7 separate regions of the Homo sapiens genome follow, and regions 1, 2, 3, 5, 6 and 7 are each linked to region 4. Evidence: promoter capture Hi-C in 16 types of primary human blood cells and fetal thymus (Javierre and others, 2016). All regions are on one chromosome and are shown on one strand. Each heading gives the region's core, a stretch centred on a gene start or on the middle of the fragment in contact. The rest is flanking DNA. Distances are from core to core; before and after follow the strand shown. Region 1 overlaps ZCCHC14 (zinc finger CCHC-type containing 14). Region 2 has its middle 69 kb from the start of C16orf95. Region 3 overlaps FBXO31 (F-box protein 31). Region 4 holds the start of FOXC2 (forkhead box C2). Region 5 has its middle 65 kb from the start of LINC02181. Region 6 has its middle 43 kb from the start of LINC02181. Region 7 has its middle 82 kb from the start of LINC02181.

Evidence for each region. Contacts are between HindIII fragments. The CHiCAGO score rates a contact against its expected background, and 5 or more counts as called.
Region 1: a fragment that was not itself captured here is called in contact with the fragment with the promoter of FOXC2 in region 4 in 1 of 17 cell types (M2 macrophages); the score reaches 6.9 in M2 macrophages.
Region 2: a fragment that was not itself captured here is called in contact with the fragment with the promoter of FOXC2 in region 4 in 3 of 17 cell types (M2 macrophages, megakaryocytes and endothelial precursors); the score reaches 6.8 in M2 macrophages.
Region 3: a fragment that was not itself captured here is called in contact with the fragment with the promoter of FOXC2 in region 4 in 1 of 17 cell types (monocytes); the score reaches 5.4 in monocytes.
Region 5: a fragment that was not itself captured here is called in contact with the fragment with the promoter of FOXC2 in region 4 in 4 of 17 cell types (M2 macrophages, endothelial precursors, M1 macrophages and 1 more); the score reaches 6.0 in M2 macrophages.
Region 6: a contact is called between a fragment that was not itself captured here and the fragment with the promoter of FOXC2 in region 4, in 6 of 17 cell types (M2 macrophages, M1 macrophages, M0 macrophages and 3 more). The highest score is 10.9, in M2 macrophages.
Region 7: a fragment that was not itself captured here is called in contact with the fragment with the promoter of FOXC2 in region 4 in 5 of 17 cell types (megakaryocytes, M0 macrophages, M1 macrophages and 2 more); the score reaches 8.9 in megakaryocytes.

The regions. Positions count from the first base shown.
Region 1 is chr16:87,417,440-87,420,897 of GRCh38, forward strand. ZCCHC14 (zinc finger CCHC-type containing 14) reads right to left here. Exons shown (of 13, transcript NM_015144.3): 5 at 3,168-3,277; 6 at 2,344-2,438; 7 at 1,408-1,462; 8 at 21-303. Among named protein-coding and RNA genes, the nearest start is that of MAP1LC3B, 27 kb to the left of the region's middle. The HindIII fragment of the contact is 4,091 bases long and covers 1-3,458 here.
Region 2 is chr16:87,247,060-87,250,275 of GRCh38, forward strand. No RefSeq gene overlaps it. Among named protein-coding and RNA genes, the nearest start is that of C16orf95, 69 kb to the right of the region's middle. The HindIII fragment of the contact is 5,714 bases long and covers 1-3,216 here.
Region 3 is chr16:87,324,360-87,327,549 of GRCh38, forward strand. FBXO31 (F-box protein 31) reads right to left here. Exons shown (of 9, transcript NM_024735.5): 9 at 2,628-3,190. Among named protein-coding and RNA genes, the nearest start is that of C16orf95-DT, 8.4 kb to the left of the region's middle. The HindIII fragment of the contact is 7,131 bases long and covers 1-3,190 here.
Region 4 is chr16:86,565,098-86,568,493 of GRCh38, forward strand. It overlaps FOXC2 (forkhead box C2), which reads left to right and starts at 1,732. Exons shown (of 1, transcript NM_005251.3): 1 at 1,732-3,396. The coding sequence starts at 2,239. It overlaps FOXC2-AS1 (FOXC2 antisense RNA 1), which reads right to left and starts at 2,664. Exons shown (of 2, transcript NR_125795.1): 1 at 2,520-2,664; 2 at 48-221. RefSeq lists enhancers at 1,867-2,451, 2,452-3,035. The HindIII fragment of the contact is 11,287 bases long and covers 1-3,396 here.
Region 5 is chr16:87,121,278-87,124,539 of GRCh38, forward strand. No RefSeq gene overlaps it. Among named protein-coding and RNA genes, the nearest start is that of LINC02181, 65 kb to the left of the region's middle. The HindIII fragment of the contact is 1,409 bases long and covers 953-2,361 here.
Region 6 is chr16:87,098,816-87,102,216 of GRCh38, forward strand. No RefSeq gene overlaps it. Among named protein-coding and RNA genes, the nearest start is that of LINC02181, 43 kb to the left of the region's middle. RefSeq lists an enhancer at 188-903. The HindIII fragment of the contact is 4,577 bases long and covers 1-3,401 here.
Region 7 is chr16:87,138,334-87,141,610 of GRCh38, forward strand. No RefSeq gene overlaps it. Among named protein-coding and RNA genes, the nearest start is that of LINC02181, 82 kb to the left of the region's middle. RefSeq lists an enhancer at 1,807-3,006. The HindIII fragment of the contact is 3,962 bases long and covers 1-3,277 here.

The DNA of each region.
Region 1 (3,458 bases), core at 196-2,695, 850 kb after region 4:
CAGCCAGAAAACCGACATACCTTCTCCATGGAGAGCTGCTTAAAGACGGGGTAATACTTGTGCAAACGCAGTTTCCTAAGCCAGTCTAGAATCCCATTCTGCTCCTGGGTCTGAGGGGTCTGCAGACTGGAAGGCATGAGGATGGCAGGTGATGTGTCCATCTGGGTCCGGTAGGCCAGGGCTGAGCCCGCGCTGCCCGCATGGGAGCAGTGAGGCAAGGGGGCGGCGGAGCCGGCCGGGTGCTGCCCGTGGTGCTGGGCTCCGCTCTGCGAGGACGGGATACCAGCCACTCCACACACAGGCCTGTGGGACAGGGGCAGGAGGGACACAGAGAGACTGTGGCTTCCACAACCACAGACTCCACCACAGACCTCACTTCCAGGCCTTTCTGTGCCAGCCTCTGCCTCTTGGCCGGCCCTGTTGTCACAGGCCACCCTGAACTGCCAACACTGCTGTGCTATGACTGCCCTCCCTCCCCAACCACCTTTCTGCAGCTAAGATTTCTGTAATGCATGTCTGTGCACACGTGTGCATACAGGCGGCTGTGCATATACACACACATGCCTCTGCCCGTGCTTCGGAGTATGCGTCTACTTGTGTGTACGTATGTGTATTATGTATGTGTACGTCTCTGTCCCCACCAGACTTCTGCTTTAGCTGCCAAGTTTCTGTTACTTGTATTTTTTAAAAACATGCTACTCCGATAGGTATTTCTGTTACTTCTAAGTCACAGAATGACACTGATAAATCATACATCAAAATAGACTATTAAATCTTTAATGTTCAAATACAATTTTTCTAGAAAAGTAAAACGCAGAAGGCTGGAAGGTGTGACCGGCACTCCACTCTGGCCTTGCTCCTTAACTGCAAAGTCACACCTGCTGACTGGGCGCTTACCCTACCCCGACACCAGGAGGATGCCAGTCTACGCCTCGAAACCTCGCGCCCAGACAACATCTCCACGAGACTCCCTATGGGGGTGCGTGTGCACTGATCTGTGACAGCCCACCTCACTGTCAGCAAAGATGGGAGCCTCTGTGTTGCCGGCATACGACTGCAGCTACCCAGGGCCCGTGCGGACAGAGGACGCTCCTCAGGAGCACGACCCTATGCTTCTGGGAGCAGGTTTCTCACAGCCAGATTCTCGGAAATTCTGACTTTCTACGTCTATGATGGGGCCCAGGACCTTGCACTGGGGAGGAGTCCCTGGGAATTCTGATTCCAGTGGCTTAGAGAACTCTTTTTTTGGAAATCGTAAATTCAATCATCTCTACTCAATTCTTCTCAATATCATCCAAGACTCAACTTGAGCATGACTTAATTCTTGGAACAACTTTACACAGAACTCAAAGTAAACATTGTAAAATGCTTATCTGAACTGTGCTGGTTACATAGAAGATTTCTCACCTTCCAGACACGCCCATCACGGTACCTACTTTAGAAAGGGAGGGATTGCCAGGACCTATAAATTTAAAAATAAATACCATAAAAATTTACAGACAATGAAAATATTTGTTTTATTTTATTATTTTTTGAGACGGTGTTTTGCTCTTGTTGCCCAGGCTGGAGAGCAATGGTGCGATCTCGGCTCACTGCAACCTCTGCCTCCCGGGTTCAAGTGATTCTCCTGCCTCAGCCTCCCGAGTAGCTGGGACTACAGGCGACTGCCACCACGCCCGGCTAATTTTATATTTTTATTTTATTTTGGAGATGGAGTCTTGCTCTGTCAACCATGCTGGAGTGCAGTGGGGCAATCTCGGCTCACTGCAACCACCGCCTCCCGGGTTCAAGTGATTCTCCTGCCTCAGCCTACTGAGTAGCTGGGATTACAGGAGCCTGCCACCACGCCCGGCTAATTTTGTATTTTTATTTTATTTTGGAGATGGAGACTTGCTCTGTCAACCATGCTGGAGTGCAGTGGTGCAATCTCGGCTCACTGCAACCACCGCCTCCCGGGTTCAAGTGATTCTTCTGCCTCAGCCTCCCAAGTAGCGGGGACTGCAGGCATGCATCACCACGCCTGGCTAATTTTTTTGTATTTTTAGTAGACACGGGGTTTCACCATATTGGCCGGGCTGGTCTTGAACTCCTGACCTCGTGATCCACCCGCCTCAGCCTCCCAAAGTATTGGGATTATAGGCGTGAGCCACTGCGCCCAGCCTAATTTTGTATTTTTAGTAGAGACAGGGTTTTTCCATGTTGGTCAGGCTGGTCTTGAACTCCCAACCTCAGGTGATCCGCCCGCCTCAGCCTCCCAAAGTGCTGGGATTACAAGCATGAGCCACTGCGCCCAGCTGTTTTTTTTTTTTTTAATTTATATTTAACCATATTTTACAAACTCACTTGGACTCTGAAGCTGCTGTGGGGGAGAGGAAGTGCTGAGAAACCTCCTGACATGGTCATTTTTCAACACGTGAGAAGGTAATGAGGCCAGGTACCTAAAAGGCAAACAAGTGGTCTTATCAACATTAAAATGGCATTCCTGCTGACGAATTGAAAGAAAAAAATTTAACTTTTAATCAAGAGAAATGTGTATTAGAGGAAAAAAGCCAGAAGTGCCAGAGCCTCATATTCTTCCTGCTTTAATTCAACTGAGTTCTTGCCCGACTGCCACTGCTTCTTCAAGCCCTTCCTCTCAATGCTGTATTCATGGCCACCAAGGTTGACGACAGCAGTCATGCCCTGTGACATGAGATCAGTGCCACCCACCAGCCAGAAAGGTGCTTGGACACTGGTCCCCAGGGCCCCGGCAGCAGCACATTTACGGAACTGGTCGGCCATGTTACTTCGTGTGCCACGTGAGCCAAGACACGATCGAGGGTCCAGAGAAACTGTTTAAGAGACGCCAATTTTATCTGGGAATAGTCTCAACCTTGGACTACAGGATGGAAACAGCAGCCCAGGATTATTTCACAGGACTGCCAAAGCCCAAGACGTGGTGGGACCCACCCTGGAATTCCCTTCCTCACACACTCAGAACCACTCTCAGCTTACTGAGGGCTCCCGAATCCTCCAGAACTAATGGAAATCCCTAGAGGCCAAGTAGAGACCCAGGTCCAGGTGACCGCGCATCCTCCCAGAGCTCCTTGGAGGACCACAGCATTGACCACAGGACCAGCCTGTCCTTGCCAGCTGTGGACGCGCCGGGTGCCTGGTAAGGGCCTCACCTCAGGCCTGAGTCCAGATCCACGTGGTTTCGCTCCACATAAAATGCGTCCGGACCAGCTAAGCAAGGAATGAGTTTCTCCAAGTTCTCTTCAGGATAGAGCTGACATAGCTGGAAGAGAGGACAAGGTAGAGGAGGTGTGTCCAGACCCATCCAACACCAGCAGAATTCTGCTACTGCAGGAAAACCTGGGGCAGGTGCTCCATGGTGCCGCCTGCTGGTCTGATATGATTTACACCTCCCGTCAGAGCTATTCTGGGGCCCACATCCACTTAGGGTGTAGAAAGTCACA
Region 2 (3,216 bases), core at 255-2,754, 680 kb after region 4:
GTTTCTAAAGAAAGTCCCTAGAAGAAAAGCACGACAGTTATTAAAGTAAGGAAGCAACAACAATTGGCAGACAACTAAAAAGAGATCACCCCCATTTCTGACTGGCAGAGGTCATGTATCAGATGTCTTTCTCTGATAATAAACATTTTCTAATCACGTAACGTTTTTTAACATTCAAAATTCTCCCCCCCTTAGAACCCTCATACACTGTTGGTGGGAATGTAAATTAGTATAGCCACTACGGAAAACAGTGTGGACATTCCTCAAACAATTAAAAATAGAACCATCATATGATCCAGGAATCCTACCACAGGGAATACATCCAAAAGAAATGAAATTGGCATGTTGAAGAGACATCCGCAATCTCATGTCTATTGCAACACTATTCATAATAGCCAAGATACAGGATCAACCTAAGTGCTCATCATGGATGGATAGACAAAGAAAAAGTAGGGTTGTATATACACAATAGAATACTATTCAGGCTATCATTTGCAACAACATCAATAAACCTGGAGGTCATTACGTTAAGTAAAATATAAACATAATATTGCATAGAAAGACAAGTTCTGCATGATCTCGCTTATCTGTGGAATCTGAAAAAGTTGAACTCATAGAAGTACAGAGTGGAATGGTGGTTACCAGGGGCTGGGGTTGGGGGAAAGAGATTGGGAAAATCTTGGTCAAAGATACAAAATTTCAGTTACATAGAAAGAATAAGTTCAAGGTCGGGCGCGGTGGCTCACGCCTGTAATCCCAGCACTTTGGGAGGCCGAGGCAGGCAGATCACAAAGTCAGGAGATCGAGACCACGGTGAAACCCCATCTCTACTAAAAATACAAAAAATTAGCCCGGCATGGTGGCAGGCGCCTGTAGTCCCAGCTACTCGGGAGGCTGAGGCAGAAGAATGGCGTGAACCTGGGAGGTGGAGCTTGCAGTGAGCCGAGATCGCGCCACTGCACTCCAGCCTGGGCGACAGAGTGAGACTCTGTCTCAAAAAGAAAAAAAAAAAAGAGAGAAAGAATAAGTTCAAGAGAGCTATTGTAAGTAACATGGTAACTATAGTTAACAACAATGTATCATATACATGAAAATTGCTACAAGAGTAGATTGTGTTCTCACCAAAAAAAAAAAAAAATGAGTATGTGAGGTAATATATGTTACTTAGCTTGATTTAGCCATTTCGCCATGTACACAAATTTCAAAACATGTTTTCCACCATAAATATATGTAAATTGTATTTGTCGGTTTTTTTGTTTTTTGGGGTTTTTTTGTTTGTTTGTTTTTTGAGACAGAGTCTCGCACTGTCGCCCGGGCTGGAGTGCAATGGCGTGATCTTGGCTCACTGCCACCTCCGCCTCCCAGGTTCAAGCCATTCTCCTGCCTCAGCCTCCCGCGTAGCTGGGATTAAAGGTGCCCACCACCACGTCCGGCTAATTTTTTGTATTTTTAATAGAGACAGGGTTTCACTATGTTGGCCAGGCTGGTCTCAAACACCTGACCTTGTGATCCGCCTGCCTCAGCCTCCCAAAGTGCTGGGATTACAGGCGTGAGCCACCGTGCCCAGCCTATTTGTCAGTTTTTTTAATCTCCCCTGTGTAGCCCCAGCAAGCTCCTTTCTGGTGATTAAATTATCCTGTATCCTGATGGTGGTAGTGGTTACACAGATCTATACAAGAGACCAAGAGCACAGCAACACACACACACACACACACACACACACATATGCGTGTAAAAACCAGTGGAATCTGAACAAGGTCTGGAGTCTAGTATTGTCCCAATGTCAATTTCCTGGGGCTGCTATTTTGCAGCAGTTACATAAGACACCCCCACTGGGGAGAGCTGCAGGGAGGGCTCGGGAGATCCTTCGTACTATTTTTGTAATTTCCTATGAAGCTATAGTCATTTCAAAAGTAAAAGTGAAAAACAAAATCCCTCCCACAATTTCATCTATTCCAATACATTTCTTGCCACTTAATTTGGGTTGCACTATTTGTAACTGGTAACACACCTAAAATTATTTTGGTAATGAGGAGGCTGAAATGTTTGGGCTTCCAGTGTGTTTTCAGAGGTTTTGTTTGGGAGAGAGGCGAGGAAATAACCCCATGCCCTTTCTGCAAATGGAGCAACTGAGGCTTTGCTGAGATTCATCCACGAGATTGGGCACTCGGAGTAAGGAGCCACGTTGACTGCACTCACCCCTGCATTGCCTGCCCCACCACTGAACCGAGCACCCGGCAGACACAATCAAATTTCAGTAAATGAATACATCATTTACGACAGTCACCCACCATCCCACTGGTAACTCCACAGATGAGCAATGGCAAGCCAAAACTCAAGAGAGACACCAGGAAGGTTTAGACAACATGCCAGAAACTGTCCCTGAGAAAAGGGGAGCCGAGGCTTTGTGAGCAACACAAGCCGAGTCACTACAGACAAATTAGTGACCTTCTAGTTCAGCTGGCCAGGGTGGACCAGCAACTCTGTTAAACAGGAACCTGTCGGCCGGGCATGGTGGCTCACGCCTGTAATCCCAGCACTCTGGGAGGCCGAGGTGGGTGGATCTCTTGAGGTTGGGAGAAAAGGGAATGCTCACACACTGCTGGTGGGGCCGTATAGTTCCGCCACTGTGGAAAGAAGTGCAGCAATTTCTCAAAGAACTTAAGGCAGAACTACCATCCAACCCAGCAATCCCATAATGGGGTATATACCCAAAGGAATATAAATCATTCTACAGGAAGGACGTATGCACACGTGTGTTCATCACAGCATTATTCACAATAGCAAAGTCACAGAATCAATCTAAGTGTCCATCAGCAGTAGACTGGATAAAGAAAATGTGGTATATACACACCATGGAATACTGTGCAGCCATAATAAAGAACAAGATCATGTCCTTTGCAGCAACATGGATGGAGCTGGAGGCCATTATCCTAAGCAAACTAACACAGGAACAGAAAATCAAATACCACATGTTCTCACTTATAAGTAGGAGATAAATATTGAGTATGTATGGACAAAAAGAAGGGATCAATAGATACTGGGGCCTATGTGAGGGTAGAGGGTGAGAGGAGGGAGAGGATCGAAAAACTACCTCTCAGATATTATGCTTATTACCTGGGTGGTGAAATAATCTTTACAGCAAACGCGCATGACATGCAACTTGCCTATATAATGAAGCTACACATGTACCCTAAACCTAAAAGTTTTTAAAAA
Region 3 (3,190 bases), core at 444-2,943, 760 kb after region 4:
CCCTGGGCAAATTACTCAGCCTCTCTGAGCTGCTGCTTCCTCTCCTGTGGAGTGGGCTGATCCCAGCCACACCAGCACTCCTGGTTGTTCCGTGGTTAATGTCTGCCAAACACGGTGCCATGGAGAACACCCAGCAGAGCCCAGCTGCTTGTTTGCTGGGGAGGGACAGCGCTGCAGGGGCGCCTCCCCCTGGCCCTCCAGCACCTTTCCACCTTGCTTCCAGGACCTCCGCGGCTCAGAGGCAGTGCAGGTGGGCTTCAGGGACGGCAGGGAGGGCCCACGCCGGCACACAAGGAAGAAGGGAAGGCGCCAGGGATCGCACCCCTCAGGAAGAAGAGGGACGGAGGCAAAGATAGGAAGGACACGCATTGTGCCTTCTGTCACTTGGGGATTTTCAAGTCAAAATGGGGAGGGGGCCGGGGTAGGTTTGGAAACTATCCAAATGGCATTTTGTTTCACATTGCTGGCTGGGGGCAAGCCCTCTGCAGTGACCCTACATGCCCACTAGAGGTCACACCACAAAAGGGGACCTCCCCTAAGGAGGGGGGACAAACGGAGGACCCTGGGCACCGTGCCTCCTGCAAGGGGAGGAAGGATGAAGCCCCGCCATCCATCGGGTGGGGAAAGCGCCATGCCTCCGGCAGCACAGCCAAGCGGCCCCCACAGGGAGGAGTGAGCTCCATATGGGCCCAGGTGACCCGGCCACAACACCCTCTCGGCCTCCGCCTCACCTGCTGGTGTTGGGCATGGCCAGCCTGGGCAGCCACCAGCCCTCGCTGCCCATCTGCTGTCCCCTCAACCCCAGCAGCAGACAGAAAAGTGCAGGGTCTGAGCCCCCGGGGGGATGCTGGTGTCGGACAGATCCCTGGAGAACAAAGCCTGTGCCCTTGTGTCTAGGTGAGGCTGCGGCACCCAGGCCCGGAGCAGGTCCCCCCAGCTGGGCCATCCCCACTCTTGGAGCAAGAGGGGAACTGCAGCAGGAAGCAGCCTTCTACTCGTTCCCCATGACCTTATTTTTTTTTTCATTTTAAAATAAAATATGTAAGAGAAACATATGAAAGACGCCACATTTAGTCCCTTATCAGATCCACACTTCCCCCTGTGACCTGGGAAATCGGGGTGCGTCTCCAGTCTGTGGGGGGCAGGGTCTCGTCCAGACAGGAGGCTGCATGGTGCTGCTTGTAGCAAGTGACTCGTTTGTGGTTGGCACGCCCAGTGCAGCTGAGGATGACCCCGTGGCTTGGCCCCAGGACAGGACCCAGGCCCCACAGAAAGGCCTGGAAACAGCAGCAAACCTTAGAGAAGGAAACACCCACCACCGGGGACCCACGATCCCCTGCTCTCCCCGGAGAAGGAAACACCCACCGCCGGGGACCCACGATCCCCTGCTCTCCCTGGAGGGCACCCAGGAAGCAGCCGCAGCTGGCAGGCTATGTGGCAACCCCGAGACCAGCGGAGATGGCAGTGGGTGGGCCTGCAGGTCACTGCCCCTGGGCACTGTGTCCTGTCTGAGGGGCTTGTTTCTGAACCACACAGAAAAGAGGGGGGGTCTCGTAATCCACGGTATCAGGATCAACAGGTGAACAGATGCTAGTTCTGCCATGCGATCCTTACTTTTTAAAGCAAAACAGTTGAAGTTCTACCCTCCGACACCCCTAGAAGTGACCACACCATTCCCACGCGTATCTTCAGCTTTTCCCCACACATGAATTGATAAAAATTAAGTATTTGCATTTTTACATGTTACACCAATACCATCTCTCACTTGTTTTGCAACGGAACAAGGCTGTGTGCCCGTCTGCCAGGTGACAGCATGGGTGGCTCCACCGTAGTCCACCTGCCTCCTTCCGGCCTGTGACAGTTGTCACAGTGTAGCAATGAACATCCCTGCGTGGCCCATGCCTGGGCTCTCGCGTTGCCCGAGGGTGGACACCTCAGGATGCAGATGCCAGTCCCTGGGCCCGTGTCCTTAGTGCCATGAGCTAGTACCAGCTGTCCCCAAAACAGCTGCCCCACCTGCGTTCCTGTTCCCCTGCATCACTGCCAACACTTGGAAAATCACACTTGCCAATTTCTGCCAATCGAGGGTGTACTTTGAGTGCATTACCATGGAAAACATCCTGTTTCTACAATTCCAAGCTAACAGCATTAATTAGCAGCAGTGACTCACGGGGAGGCTGGGATGAGAACAGGGGGTACTTTCACTGTCTATGCTAAAGAACTGTTTACAAGAACATATGAGTTTAGTAAACACAAAAGAAAGATCAATGAGATCCTCAGTTCATCTGCCTGGCTCTCAGCACATTCCCTCCCATATCTGTCCTCGTTGCAGATAATGCAACTCACTTTGGCTTAAATCTAAGAAAATCTACTGGGGCCCGAACTCCTCTGGGTCCCTGGGTAGGGACTCGAGACACCTCTGATGCCAGGTCAAAGGGAAGGACACAGGGACAACCACTGTCTGGGCTCCAAGGCATCCCTTCAATGCTCCCTTCTGTCAACGCGGGAAATCTGACACTTCCTCAAGAAGCTGGGAAGTCTGGGTTCCCAGGCCGACAGCTCGCATGGCTTAAGGCTCTCGCCTCCGTCCAACTCATATTCCCAAAGAAATCACAAAACACACAACAAGCCTTCAAAAACGGATTTACTTGAAACTGTGAGGAGAAACAAGTGCACGGGTGCAGGTGGCGGCTGCCAGGATTGCTCCGGTCCTACCTAGTGGGTGCCTACCCAGGCAGGGCACAGCTCCTGCTGCAAGGTCACCTTACCAGGGGGTGCAGAGGTGCTCATGATCAGATGGCACAGCGCTTTCCTAATGCAGGCAGGCTACATGGCCCCCAGAAACAACCAAATGCAGAATCAGGCCAAAACCCACACAGCCCTGACCCCCTCGTGCTCTGGCTGGTCTCCCGGTCAGCAGCCCCTGAGGGCCGGCAGGCAGGCCACTGAGCTGTGGGTGACACAGGGTAGTCCACGGTTTGCACAGTCTCATTCCCATTCAAAGACAGGCCCCAAGGCTGGGGCGCAGGGGCTCACGCCTGTAATCCCAGCACTTTGGGAGGCCGAGGCGGGTGGATCACCTGAGATCGGGAGTTCGAGACCAACCTGAGCAACATGGCAAAACTCCATCTCTACAAAAACAAGTTAGCCAAGCATGGTGGTGGTGGGTGCCTGTGGTCCCAGCTACTTG
Region 4 (3,396 bases), core at 482-2,981:
AGCTTCCCTTTGGCTTTGAATTGATCAGGAGACAAAGATAATGCATCTACATTTTCGTCTTCTGTTCTTTTATTGGAAATAAGTGGCACGCCCCATTGCCTTCTAGTCGCCTCCCCGAAGCGAAGAGGCCGAAGCGAAGAGGCCTGGTGGGTTGTCTCAACATCCTTTTGCTGAGAATCGAATACGCAGCCGATGAACAGCCAGGAAGGGTGCAAGGAAACCTGAAATACAAATGTTCTCCCTGAAGCCCTCTTCCCTGCCCAACCAGACCAGCAACTTCCAAAATTCTGCCCGTGTTTAGCCTTGTTAAAGGGGTGTCTCACTCCTTCAGGGAAAGTGGGAAAAGGGGATCTGATTATTGAGGTGTGGAAGGAATAAATAATCAGTCCACAAATAAACAAACTGTCCGGGATTCCTAGAGGGAAGGAGAAATCCTTGAAGGAGATCCAAGTCGCTCCAGGTCTGCCTGCCGAATAATATCATCCCGAAGGGATCTTGAACCGTTTGCAATCAACCGCTCACCCAGTCTTCCCACGGAGCGCGCTCCCTAACTCACCCTACCCACCCAACAAAACAAAAAAAAGGCTGAAATATAGAAAAGCAACTTGGAGGCTCCCAGGGGGACGTTGCCAGGAGCAGGAGGCAGGGACAGCGCCCTAGGGTCGGTGTTAGCGGCCGGCGCCGGCCTGGGCCACGGGAAACGTCCACGCTTGGTGCCCGCGGTGCGCGGCGCTCATTGCGCGCGCCTTCGAGCCAAGCCCCCGCGGAAAACAGGCTCGGGTTTCTCCTCGCAGGGCCCAGGAACTCGGCTCTGCCTGGCCCGGGTGGGTCGCTGCATTGTCCCGGTCTTCTGGGAGTGCGGGGTCAGCTTGTTAGAGGGAATTTCTACCTGGGAAAAGGGAGACGAGTTTCGAAGCTGAAGTTGGTAGGCTGCGAGTGTCCACGCGGGAGACGAAAGGGGGAAATAGCAGAGTCACTTCACCCTTTTCCCCAAACCCCACAAAACTGCTCGCAGCGACGCGGATGATCTACCGAATTCCCCGCGAATTCGGAGGATTAAGTTGTCAGTCAGCACGTTGCTACCTTCCCCTCTATGCACTCCGCTGCCTGGCTCCTCGGCGGGGAGCGAGGGAAACTCAGTTTGTAGGGTTTACCTCTAAAACCTCGATAGGTTATCCTTGACGACCCCGAGCCTGGAAACTCCCTGTTGATGATTAATTATTTGATTAAATAAGTATAACATCCAGGAGAGGCCCTGCCATTCCAATCCAGCGCGTTTGCTTTGAATCCATTACACCTGGGCCCCCATAATTAGGAAATCTAATTATTCGCTTCATCACTCATTAATAAGAAAAATGTCCCAGGATCATTGCTACTTACAAGGTCTTTGGGAGAGATATTTTACTCTATTAATCCATTCTATTTTATATTTCAAATTGATTTTTTTTAACAGAGGAAAGTGGCTATCTTTTTGTTTTGGGCATGTGGGCCCATTCACCAAAATGTGATCATAAAATAAATTTTAATAAGATATAACTTTTTAAAAAGTTTTCAAGTGAAGACGGAGTCGCCGCGGAGGCCGGGGCGGCGGGGTCTTAGAGCCGACGGATTCCTGCGCTCCTCGCCCCGATTGGCGCCGACTCCTCTCAGCTGCCGGGTGATTGGCTCAAAGTTCCGGGAGGGGGCGTGGCCCGAGGAAAGTAAAAACTCGCTTTCAGCAAGAAGACTTTTGAAACTTTTCCCAATCCCTAAAAGGGACTTGGCCTCTTTTTCTGGGCTCAGCGGGGCAGCCGCTCGGACCCCGGCGCGCTGACCCTCGGGGCTGCCGATTCGCTGGGGGCTTGGAGAGCCTCCTGCGCCCCTCCTCGCGCGGGCCGAGGGTCCACCTGGGTCCCCAGGCCGCGGCGTCTCCGCTGGGTCCGCGGCCGCCCGCCTGCCCGCGCTGCCGCCGCCGGGTCCTGGAGCCAGCGAGGAGCGGGGCCGGCGCTGCGCTTGCCCGGGGCGCGCCCTCCAGGATGCCGATCCGCCCGGTCCGCTGAAAGCGCGCGCCCCTGCTCGGCCCGAGCGCCGCCGCCCGCGCACCCTCGCCCCGGAGGCTGCCAGGAGCCCGGGGCCGCCCCTCCCGCTCCCCTCCTCTCCCCCTCTGGCTCTCTCGCGCTCTCTCGCTCTCAGGGCCCCCCTCGCTCCCCCGGCCGCAGTCCGTGCGCGAGGGCGCCGGCGAGCCGTCTCGGAAGCAGCATGCAGGCGCGCTACTCCGTGTCCGACCCCAACGCCCTGGGAGTGGTGCCCTACCTGAGCGAGCAGAATTACTACCGGGCTGCGGGCAGCTACGGCGGCATGGCCAGCCCCATGGGCGTCTATTCCGGCCACCCGGAGCAGTACAGCGCGGGGATGGGCCGCTCCTACGCGCCCTACCACCACCACCAGCCCGCGGCGCCTAAGGACCTGGTGAAGCCGCCCTACAGCTACATCGCGCTCATCACCATGGCCATCCAGAACGCGCCCGAGAAGAAGATCACCTTGAACGGCATCTACCAGTTCATCATGGACCGCTTCCCCTTCTACCGGGAGAACAAGCAGGGCTGGCAGAACAGCATCCGCCACAACCTCTCGCTCAACGAGTGCTTCGTCAAGGTGCCCCGCGACGACAAGAAGCCCGGCAAGGGCAGTTACTGGACCCTGGACCCGGACTCCTACAACATGTTCGAGAACGGCAGCTTCCTGCGGCGCCGGCGGCGCTTCAAAAAGAAGGACGTGTCCAAGGAGAAGGAGGAGCGGGCCCACCTCAAGGAGCCGCCCCCGGCGGCGTCCAAGGGCGCCCCGGCCACCCCCCACCTAGCGGACGCCCCCAAGGAGGCCGAGAAGAAGGTGGTGATCAAGAGCGAGGCGGCGTCCCCGGCGCTGCCGGTCATCACCAAGGTGGAGACGCTGAGCCCCGAGAGCGCGCTGCAGGGCAGCCCGCGCAGCGCGGCCTCCACGCCCGCCGGCTCCCCCGACGGCTCGCTGCCGGAGCACCACGCCGCGGCGCCCAACGGGCTGCCTGGCTTCAGCGTGGAGAACATCATGACCCTGCGAACGTCGCCGCCGGGCGGAGAGCTGAGCCCGGGGGCCGGACGCGCGGGCCTGGTGGTGCCGCCGCTGGCGCTGCCCTACGCCGCCGCGCCGCCCGCCGCCTACGGCCAGCCGTGCGCTCAGGGCCTGGAGGCCGGGGCCGCCGGGGGCTACCAGTGCAGCATGCGAGCGATGAGCCTGTACACCGGGGCCGAGCGGCCGGCGCACATGTGCGTCCCGCCCGCCCTGGACGAGGCCCTCTCGGACCACCCGAGCGGCCCCACGTCGCCCCTGAGCGCTCTCAACCTCGCCGCCGGCCAGGAGGGCGCGCTCGCCGCCACGGGC
Region 5 (3,262 bases), core at 407-2,906, 560 kb after region 4:
CCTTTACATTAGGAAACACCATATGTTCTAGCCCAAAGCAGCCAATAAAAATGCAATGTGAGCCACATAAATAATTTTAAATGTTATAGTAGACGTGTTAAAAATGTAAGGAGAGGCCAGGCGGGGTGGCTCACACCTGTAATCCCAGCACTTTGGGAGGCCGAGGCGGGCAAATCACAAGGTCAAGAGATCGAGACCATCCTGGCCAACATGGTGAAACCCTGTCTCTACTAAAAATACAAAAATCAGCTGGGTGTGGTGTCGGGCGCCTGTAATCCTAGCTACTCAGGAGGCTGAGGCAGGAGAATCACTTGAACCCGGGAGGCGGAGGTTGCAGCGAGCCGAGATCGCGCCACTGCACTCCAGCCTGGCAACAGAGCCAGACTCCTTCTCAAAAAACAAAACAAAACAAAACAAAAAGTAAGAAGAAACCAAGGAATTTATTTGTTTAGCCCAATGTACCTTCAATATTGTCATTTCATTATGTAATCAATATAAATGAGATTTTTTCACTCTTTCATACTACAGCTTCAAAATCCAGCATGTACTCACACCTAAGGGACATCTCAGTTCAGATCAGCCCAACATTGGAAGCTGTGGCCCTAACTCCTCGTGGAGGTAGACAAGCAACAGCCCCTCTATTTCATCTTTTTTCTTTCTTTTTTCCCGGCACTTTTTGCTCAAGAAGCTAGTGTTGCAGAGAGCTGGGGTAGGGCCTCCCAGCAAGCATGCAGCTTCCCGGGCAGAGAGAGCAGACTGGTACCTCAGAGGGGCTGAAGCCAGGCATCTGTGATCTTAGCTTAGGCCAGCCTGCTGCCAGGGTGGAATTTCTTTGAAGTCTTCTGTTTTATCCTAAAAACTTATGGAGATTTTACATCTTACTCCAAAGAATACCCATGTTTGTTTGAGTATTGGAAATGTTTTAGATTACTTGGCGTCTAGGAAAAATCAAAGCTTAGCGTGTTTACGTTGTGGCTCCCCCTGCCCGTTCCGTCTCCCCTTGGGGCTGTGCGCCTCCCAATTTAAGATGCACAGGATTACCTGGTCTCCACGCTTCCTTCCAGCTCTGGGTGCCCATGACTTTTTAAAGAAATTAAACCAAATGGTCCATTTGCATTTAGGCAATCCATGAGCCTATGTGGAGTTTTGTTTGTTTATTTCTATGTTTGTTATGGGATTCCCCAGCCTTAACCATTCTAACGTGGGATAACCCCCACCCCATTAACCATTCTAATGTGGGATAACTCACTAGCTAGGAGCCTTAGACAGCAGATCTTCCGACCGCTCCCTTTTCACAGCCAGTAACTCTTCCCATTGTGCTGAAAACAACCTATAGCTCTGACTAAAACTCCCCAGAAATACCCCCAGATGTGTCCCTAGAAAATCCTTCCTCCTGGAAAAGGCATGGTCCTCACTGAAATTACTTTTGAACAACCAATACTTAGACAGAGATCCCCAATATGATTATAATGTCTAATCTTCTTTAGAGGCAATATATTACCACTAATTAACGTGGTAAATGTTATACTTAATGTAAAATTTTTCATATAAATAAACATTTTAATAAATACAAATATACTTATATTCATTATATAATTTGTTCTATATAACGATTACATAAAATTAATAAAAATATCATATATAAAATGTGTCACCTAAATAAAATATAAAATTCTACAGATATATATGATTGATATGGGAGCTTTATGATAAATATAATTGTGTAATATATATGTTTATAAATGAACAAATATATTATAAATTATATTTTAAATTATTTTAAAGATTATTATCAATAAGAGTGCCACTAAGTATCTTCAGCTTAAAGGGTCCAGGAGGTCTGAGATGCACACAGAGGCTCCTAGGCAGCATGCGGTGGTTTGAGTCCCAGCAGGAGGCTTCTGAAGACTGCAGTGGACCTGAACATCCCCCAGAGACACTGGACGCTTCTGAGGCAGGCAGTAGCTTTGGTGGCCATTTGCATTTTCTAAAGAGGGCCACCACAACATATCCCAGGCCGCATGCTGTTTTTAGGATGTGACCCTGATGCTCCCCCAGTCAAGTGGTGAGGAACCCGTGCCCAGGTTCAAGAGGAAGTTTGTGACTGTCTCAACCAGTAAGGTACAGCAGAAATGACTGCCAACACTAGACCATAGAAATGCCACCAGTGTCCACCCTGTGTGCTTAGAACTCTGCCTCCATGGTGGGAGGAAGCCCAAGCAGCCACGAGGCAGACCGCGTGCAAAGGTTCCAGATGAGAGACCCTAATGAAGGTTCCAGTTAACAAGCAGCCTCAACACCAGACATATGAGTAAACACACTTTCAGCAAATTCCAGAACCCCACCATCAACTCACCTCTAAGCTTGGAGCCCCCGCAGCTAACACCACACAAGACACAGATGAGCTGTGCCTGCAGATCCCTGCCCAAAGTACGGTTCACGAGCAGAAAATGAAAGAATGTTGTTGTTCCCATCCCCTAAGTCTGAGTGGTTTGTGACTCACTGGTAAATGACAAGGTCGCAGCGTCCGCAGCAGCCCTGAGAGCCTGGCGAGTGTGAGTCCCAGCCAGGCCTGCCAGGCTTGCTGCGTGATCTCAGGCTGCTTGGCCCCATAAGCCCCTGGTTCCCTGTCGGTTAGACAGCCAGGATGCAAACTTCCATGCACCTTACAGAGTTGTCATGAAGGTGGAATGAGATGCCATGGGGATGTTTCATTTCACCAGCATCGCTACTGTCGCTAGTCAGCACATGGGGCAAAACCCATTGAAAGCCAATTAAATCACGCCCCAAACCAAGCCCTGGGACCTTCCCAGCAAGCCAGAGCAGCTGGTTCTCACTATCACGTGGGGATAGACCGTTCCTTCCTCACATAAGCACAAGCAGTGGCCAGAAAAGGCGCAAGAAAAATGCACCTCTCCAGGGGTGAGACTCTCACCTCCTTGAGAAAGATGCTCACTAGGCGGGCTGAGCTCACCAGGACCCACTGAGAGAGCAGCAGCTTCTCACATGCACACCACACACTCACGCAACACACAACACATACACGACACACACATGCAACACACCACATACACAACACACACACCACAAACCCAGCACACATCACATACACAACACACACGCACACAACACACCACATACACAACACACACTCACACACACCACATACACAACACACACTCACACACACCACATACACAACACACACACCACACAAACAGCACACACCACATACACAACACACACGTGCAACACACATCAC
Region 6 (3,401 bases), core at 316-2,815, 530 kb after region 4:
AGCCCAGAGTGGCTGGAGTTGGGCCGGGGGCTCTAGACGGGAAGTCCTAGGAGGTAAAAGTAGGATAGGGGAGCCCAGATCATGGCCAGGGTCTGTGTGTCCCACTGTGTAGTAAAGACCAAGCCATTCGGAGGGAGAGAGACCTGGATTCCAGAAGAAGACAGACCTGGGTTCTAGGTGGAGACAGGTCTAGATTCCAACCCCAGCTCCATATTTGAGCTGGGTTCTGAAGCATGAGTAGGAACCAGTCAGGTGCGTGCTCCGGGCAGAAGGAACCGCCTGTGCAAAGGCCTGGGTGTGGATTGCTCAGGAAAATTGCAAATGATTCCATGTGGCCGGTATTCAGAGTTACATGCTGAGGGCATTCATAAATTAAGCAGGACCCAGATTAGAAAGGGCCTTGGTTAGGCTGTGTCCCCATCCCACATGGTAACAAGCATTTCAAGTATGTTATTAACTGGTAAGAAGGGACAAACTCAAGAAATCCTCAAAGCATTACCTCCCTGTAGTGTCTGGAGGAAAAACTGCCATCATAAAGCTAATGGGGGAGTTCAACCCCTCCCTCAGACCCAAAGGAGGAGGGCTGACAGCTTGTAAAATCCCCAGCACAAAGGATTAATGGGCCAAGGAGTGACCTCTGCTACTGAAGCCTTTTGTTTTCCTGATGGTCACTGCCCCCTCCCTCCAGGGCTACAAACAGCATTTGCTGGGAGCTTTTCATGTCCTCACACCTGTTTTTTGCATTTGCTCTTCCAGCGCTGCTCCCCAACCTTCTCTCCAGCACAGCGCAGTGATAGCGGGTCCCCTTCCCTTCAGCTGCCAGTCATGGATCCGTGCCATGGGAAGCACAGCAGGAGAAGGAGGTAGCTTGGGTAGTAAAGCTCTCACCTTTTCCTAGCGCTGTGTTCTTTACCATTTGCGGGCACCTGAATAATGGCCCCTAAGATGTCTAGGTCCTAAGCACTGGCCCCAGGCAAGAAAGCACACTGGGAGGTGGGTAGGAAAGACAACTGGAGAAGCCTGAACCTACTCTTAGATTTTTAAGAGCAAAACATGTGCAGCTGTGGGTGCTTGAACAATTAGTAGAAATCCATTCCTTGCAACATGGCTCATGTTGAATAAACACAATGCCAGGAAAGGAATCCACCACACACAGGCTCCAGAGCATGTCTGCAGCCCACCTCCCCAACCCCCATTCTCTCTGAGATGACCCCTGGCTGCCACCGAATGCTGCACACTGCAAAGGAAGAAGCCAGTTTGAGAACCACCGTTCTAGAACACAGCAATGATTGCATTTGAGAGCCTAAAGGGGTGCATTGTGGAGGACAAGCAGGACGGCAAGAAGGGTGAATTCCAATTCCAGCATGCAGAGAGCGCTCACGCTAGAGCACAGTGAAGGGAGCCCAGAGACATGGTGTGTTCCAATCACAGAGAGACTAGAGAACTTTCCTTTCCGAGTTCACGTGTATTTATTCTTTCAGATTTATTTAGCACTTAGAAGGAAAAGCATTTATTAAGGAGATACTCATCATGTGGCAACCTCTTACAATGTCCTCGATTTCACTGCATGGTCACAGCAGTGTGCTAAATGGGTGTTGTTAAGGGAAGGATTAGCCCCATGTCACACTTAGGTGAGGACTCTCAGGCTTGCAGAGCTAAAAGCCAAGTTACTCAACCATTAGGTGGTGGAGTAGGTGGTGGAGACTCAGCCTAGCGTTTCTGACCCTGCAGGGCTCACACACCACGACGGGGGGCAGGCGGGGCTGCAAGACCCATTGACGGGCAGAGGTGGCCCAGCAGGAAGAGGGGAACCCTGCAGTGCAGCGGTCCATGTTTATTAGTGACTGGGGTCTTGTTTTTGTTTATTCATTTGTGAATGCGCCTCCCCTCCTAGTAAACAAGCCTCTGCAGAGGTGGTGATTTTTCCTACACAAGTGTACACAGAGCATTTTGTATGCATCATATGCCTCAGCAAAACTCTGCCAGGGAGAGCCACAGGCCTTGGGGGTGGCTCCAGACATCCCCCTTCCTCACCTGCTCCAGAGCCTCGGGAGTCCTCTGGGGTTCAGCCTAGCGTTACCTCCACCTTAACAGTCAGAACAGATTGCACAGTCTCTGCTGACCTGGCCCACATCCACCAAAATGGCTGGGCTCTCAGGCACTTTGCACATGCCTGTACTTGGGGCAGGGGGTGTTTAAGGTAGATCTGGCAGATGCGCCAACACTTGCCCTCACCACTTCCCTTGGGGCTCAAGCAGGGAGCATGGCATACAGTGAATGCAACTCCACCCTGGTAGCTGGTGCCACAAACTTTCAAGTCAGATAGACTTGAATTCAAGTCTCAGCTCTGCCACTCACTAGCTGTGTGACCTTAGACAAGTTATCTATCCTCTCGGAGCCTTTCAGTGTTACAGGAGCAACCACAAAGGTTTCCTAGACAGATTAAGTGGAATAAGACATGGAAAAAGGTTTGGGAGAGTAACTAAGACATAGTAAGTCCTCAATCAATGGCAACTACTATGACAGCTGTCATAACCATAGCGAGAGAAAGTTGCACTGAAAAGGAACTGTTATGCTTCAGTCATAATTGTATATACATACACATTGTACCTATGTATTCATACGTACATTGTATCATTAAATCCAAGCTATACATTGTATATATGTTCAGATATACATTGTATCACTGAAACCCCCAGCTACCTAGGACCTAGGAAGTAGTTTTCACATATATATACATTGTATACCTATTTCATATGTACATTGTATCACTGAACCCCCCAGCTACCCTACGATCTAGGAAGTAGTTTTCATATATATACATTGTATAGCTATCTCATTTGTACATTGTATTACTGAACACCCTCCCTTCCCCCCAGCTATTGTATGAGCTAGGAAGTGCATTTTCCTAGATCCCATCTTATAGATAAGGAAATGGAGGCTCAGAGAGATTAAGCAATTTCCACAAAGTGAAATACTAGGACTCAAATACAGAAGCATCTTCAAAAGCCCTGCTCTCTCCCACCCCCCACCCCCACTCCCATAGCTGACCACCTTCACTCCATCCTCCAGACACCCCCACGCCACCTCTAGAAGAGGCAGTCAGGGCACCTAAAATATGGCCCCCATCCAATCAGCCATCAGCAAAAGGCACTGGGAAACTGTCAGCTGTTATTAACTTTTGAAGGGATCCTGGGGCCTTTTCAAATTCTTCTGAAAGATATGGACTCTCAGCCCAGAAACGCTCACTCAAAGTTGCATTACATTCTGTAGAAACCCATCCACATGTCCCTGGGGCCCTTGAAGTCATGACGTTCCATTTCATTCCTCATAAAGCAAACACACAAAAATCTATTGGATTGAAATCTCATGGTGACTCATTCATTCATTCAACAAATCCG
Region 7 (3,277 bases), core at 307-2,806, 570 kb after region 4:
ATTTTTGGTACTTACACAAGGTCACCAGCATGCACTGTGTCTTAGTCCAAAATATCTGAGACTGGGTAATTTATAAGAAGCAGAACTTACCCTGCTCTGGAGGCTGGGATGTCCAAGATCAAGGTCCTGGCAGGCTTCATGTCAGGTGAGGGCCTGGACCCTGCTTCCACGGTGGCGCCTTGTTGCTGTGCCCTTCAGAGGGGAGGAGTACTGCGTCCTTAACTGACAGAGGAGACAGAAGGGCAAAGGATGTGGCTATTTCTCCAGAGCCTTTTATAAGGCACAGATCCCATTAACAAGGGAGGGGCCACCACGGCCTAATCACCCTCTAAAGTCCCCACCTCCAAATACTATCATATGGGGTCTTAGTTTCCAACACAGGAATCTAGGGAGATAGAAACATTCAGACCATCACAAGCTGAGCGTGAGAGTGCCCAGGGCACAGGCAGGGCAGTGGCAACCTCAGGCACAGTCAATCGCAGGAAGTAGGGAATGGATAACTAGGTGGCTCTTATGTAGAATGGTACCATTGAGAACGCCGCACCCAGCTGCCACCTTCCAATTCTAGGCAGGGTTTGATGCTGAGACAAGCTAAGAATCTCAGAAACTCAGGGCCGCACCCTCCCACTCCACCGATGTGTGAACACATAGAACATAGCATTTCAATTATGCCACGCCCGGTCTCAAAATTCAGAATTAAATGCAAACTCACCCCCATTTCCAAGCACAAGGCCGGGTGCTTTGTGATCTGGGCCCCTGACCCCGACCTCTAACTCTGACCCCTGTCCACCTCCCCCAGGACCCCCATGCCCTGCACTCCAGCTGCACGTGCCTTTTCTCACCCAAGCCCATTCCCACCTTTGGGTCCATCTAGCACCTTTGTCCTCTGCCTGCAGCGTCTCCTTCTCCCCGTCATGTCTGGATCCTTGTTATCTTCAGAGGGCAGCTCAGATGTCACCTGCTCAAAGGAGCCTCCACAGACCACACTGGCTCCCCTCACGTTAAGTTCCAGCGAGGCACCCTGTTTCCACAAAAGCACACGTCACAATCGATCATTCAGTTTTCATTTATTTCCTTTCTAATCCCCTGTCTCTACACTCATGTCAAATCCCATGAGGGCAGGGACTGTGTTTTGCCCACCACTGCATCCCCAGAGCCTAGCACGGCTCCCTGAGGCACAATGTTTGGAAAATGAATGAATGCGTTTCACTTCCTGAAGTTTTCCATGTTTAAAGGGAACCTCCAGAAGGCACCACTAAAACAGAAAATATTTCAGGCAAAATGGCTGTAACATGTGGCAGCTAGCCCCCAGACATCCACGAGCTTGGGGGTTTAATGCTGCCCCAAGAATGGCCCCACCCGAACCCCTGGAACCTGTGACTATGTTACCTTCTGTGGCAGAGGGGAATTCAGGTAGCAGATGGAATGGAGGTTGCCAATCTGCTGACCTTAAAATAGGGAGATTCCCCTGGGTTATCCAGGTGGGTCAAATGCAATCACAAGGTCCTTAATATGGAAGAAGGAGGCTGAATAGACAATCAGAGAACGATGTGATGACAGAGGCTGAGGTCAGAAAGATACAATGTTGCTTCAAGATGAAGGAGGGGCCATGAGCCAAGGAATGCAGGCGGCCTCTAGAAGCTGGAAAAGGTAAGGAAGGGATTCTCCCCTGGAGCCTCCAGAGGAACTAGCCCTGCCCACACCTTGATTCTAGCCCAGTGAGACGCAGGTCGGACTTCTAGCTTCCAAAACTTGTGTTGTTTTCAGCCACTAAATTTGCAGTACTTTGTTACCACAGCCATGGGAAGCATGCACTGTTAACAGGCTTTCTCTAAGCAGATACTAACTCACTTGATTCTCGCAGCAGCCCTGCGCAGGGGTACCAGTGCTATTCTTATTTTATGGATGAAGAAACGGAGGCATGGAGAGCTTAAGTTGCTGGCCAGGTTCCACCGCTAATGAGGGCAGAGCTGGGGCCATAAGCCAGGTGGTGGGCTCTGGAGTCCATGCTGGTGCCAACCGTACGACGATGGCCGCCAGGGGCTCTGCAGGGATTGAATGAGGTCACAGGGGGAGGCATGTGCCACGTGGCAAACCATGTGGCCTGTAGGATTGACTTCATCCTGCTTAAAAGGCCACCGACTTTCCTCTTCCGGAGTGATACCGCACGGCTTTCCATCGCTGTCCTTGGCTCGGGGGACATTGGTAAGCAGATGACTTACTGGTCAGTCACGCTGTCGCAGAAACGACGTGGGCTTGGGACCGGTGACAGAAGGCCTGGGTCAGAACTTCCACGTTCCCCACGACTGCGGGACCTTGCCAAGCCCTGTGTGTGAGTGCCCTGCAGATCACCTTCAACGCATGCCTGCCTCTCGTCACTCAGAAGTGCCTGCGGCTGCACCATCTTCTTCCTCCTGAGCCCTGATCCACTGCCCTGTGAACTTCCAGAGCCAACGTGGTTCCTGTTCGCCCCTGTCCAGCAAAGAAGGAGGAGTCGCCTCCTGAAAGTGGGGGAGCTTTGGTCTTCCTTGCCCTGCCCCGCGTTCAAGTGATACACAACATGTGGATGTTGAGATGGATTTTCTCCTCAAATGATCCCTCCAGGAGGGCAGGCTGAGCGCTGTGAAAAGCAGCTGTGTACTCATCTAAGGAGAGGGCCGGCAGCCATGGAAAACAGCCCTGCCCGGCTCCCTGCGCGACACAGACAGCCCCTCAGCCTCACTTCCTGCTGCCTCTCTCCCCGGGACCCTGGCGCCGGTTGCGTTCTGCTCTGAAAAACAAGAAAGGATTTCGGTGAGAAGCAGGAGGCAGTTGAGCTCTGCAAAGGGGCTCTGGGTTTTTTAAAAATTAAAAATTAAAAATAAATTATCAGCGACTTCAGGGAAAAAAGCATTTCTCTCCAATCCAGGCACTGTTAACCTTCTGGGGATCTCAGACCCCTCTGGAAGTCTTACAAAGCCAATAAGCTCTTCTCAGAATGTTTTCAAATGTATAAAATTTGTGAAATTACAAAAGAAACAATTACATTGAAATAGTTATCAAAATATTTTAAATTGTGATATAGTCAGATGTGTGCTTTTTTAGAAACATGGATCTCACAGAGAGTCTAATAACGTCCTTACCTCGAAGTAGCACTTGAGCTCAAATTAGAGTTTGGAAAAGCAGCCATGGCTATATATGATGAGAAAAGATCTGTGATTTTGTTGGTGACAAAATGACAGATTCTGCTAACGTGATTGGCTTGTTGCCTATGTCCATCATGGAAGGAAAAGCTAAA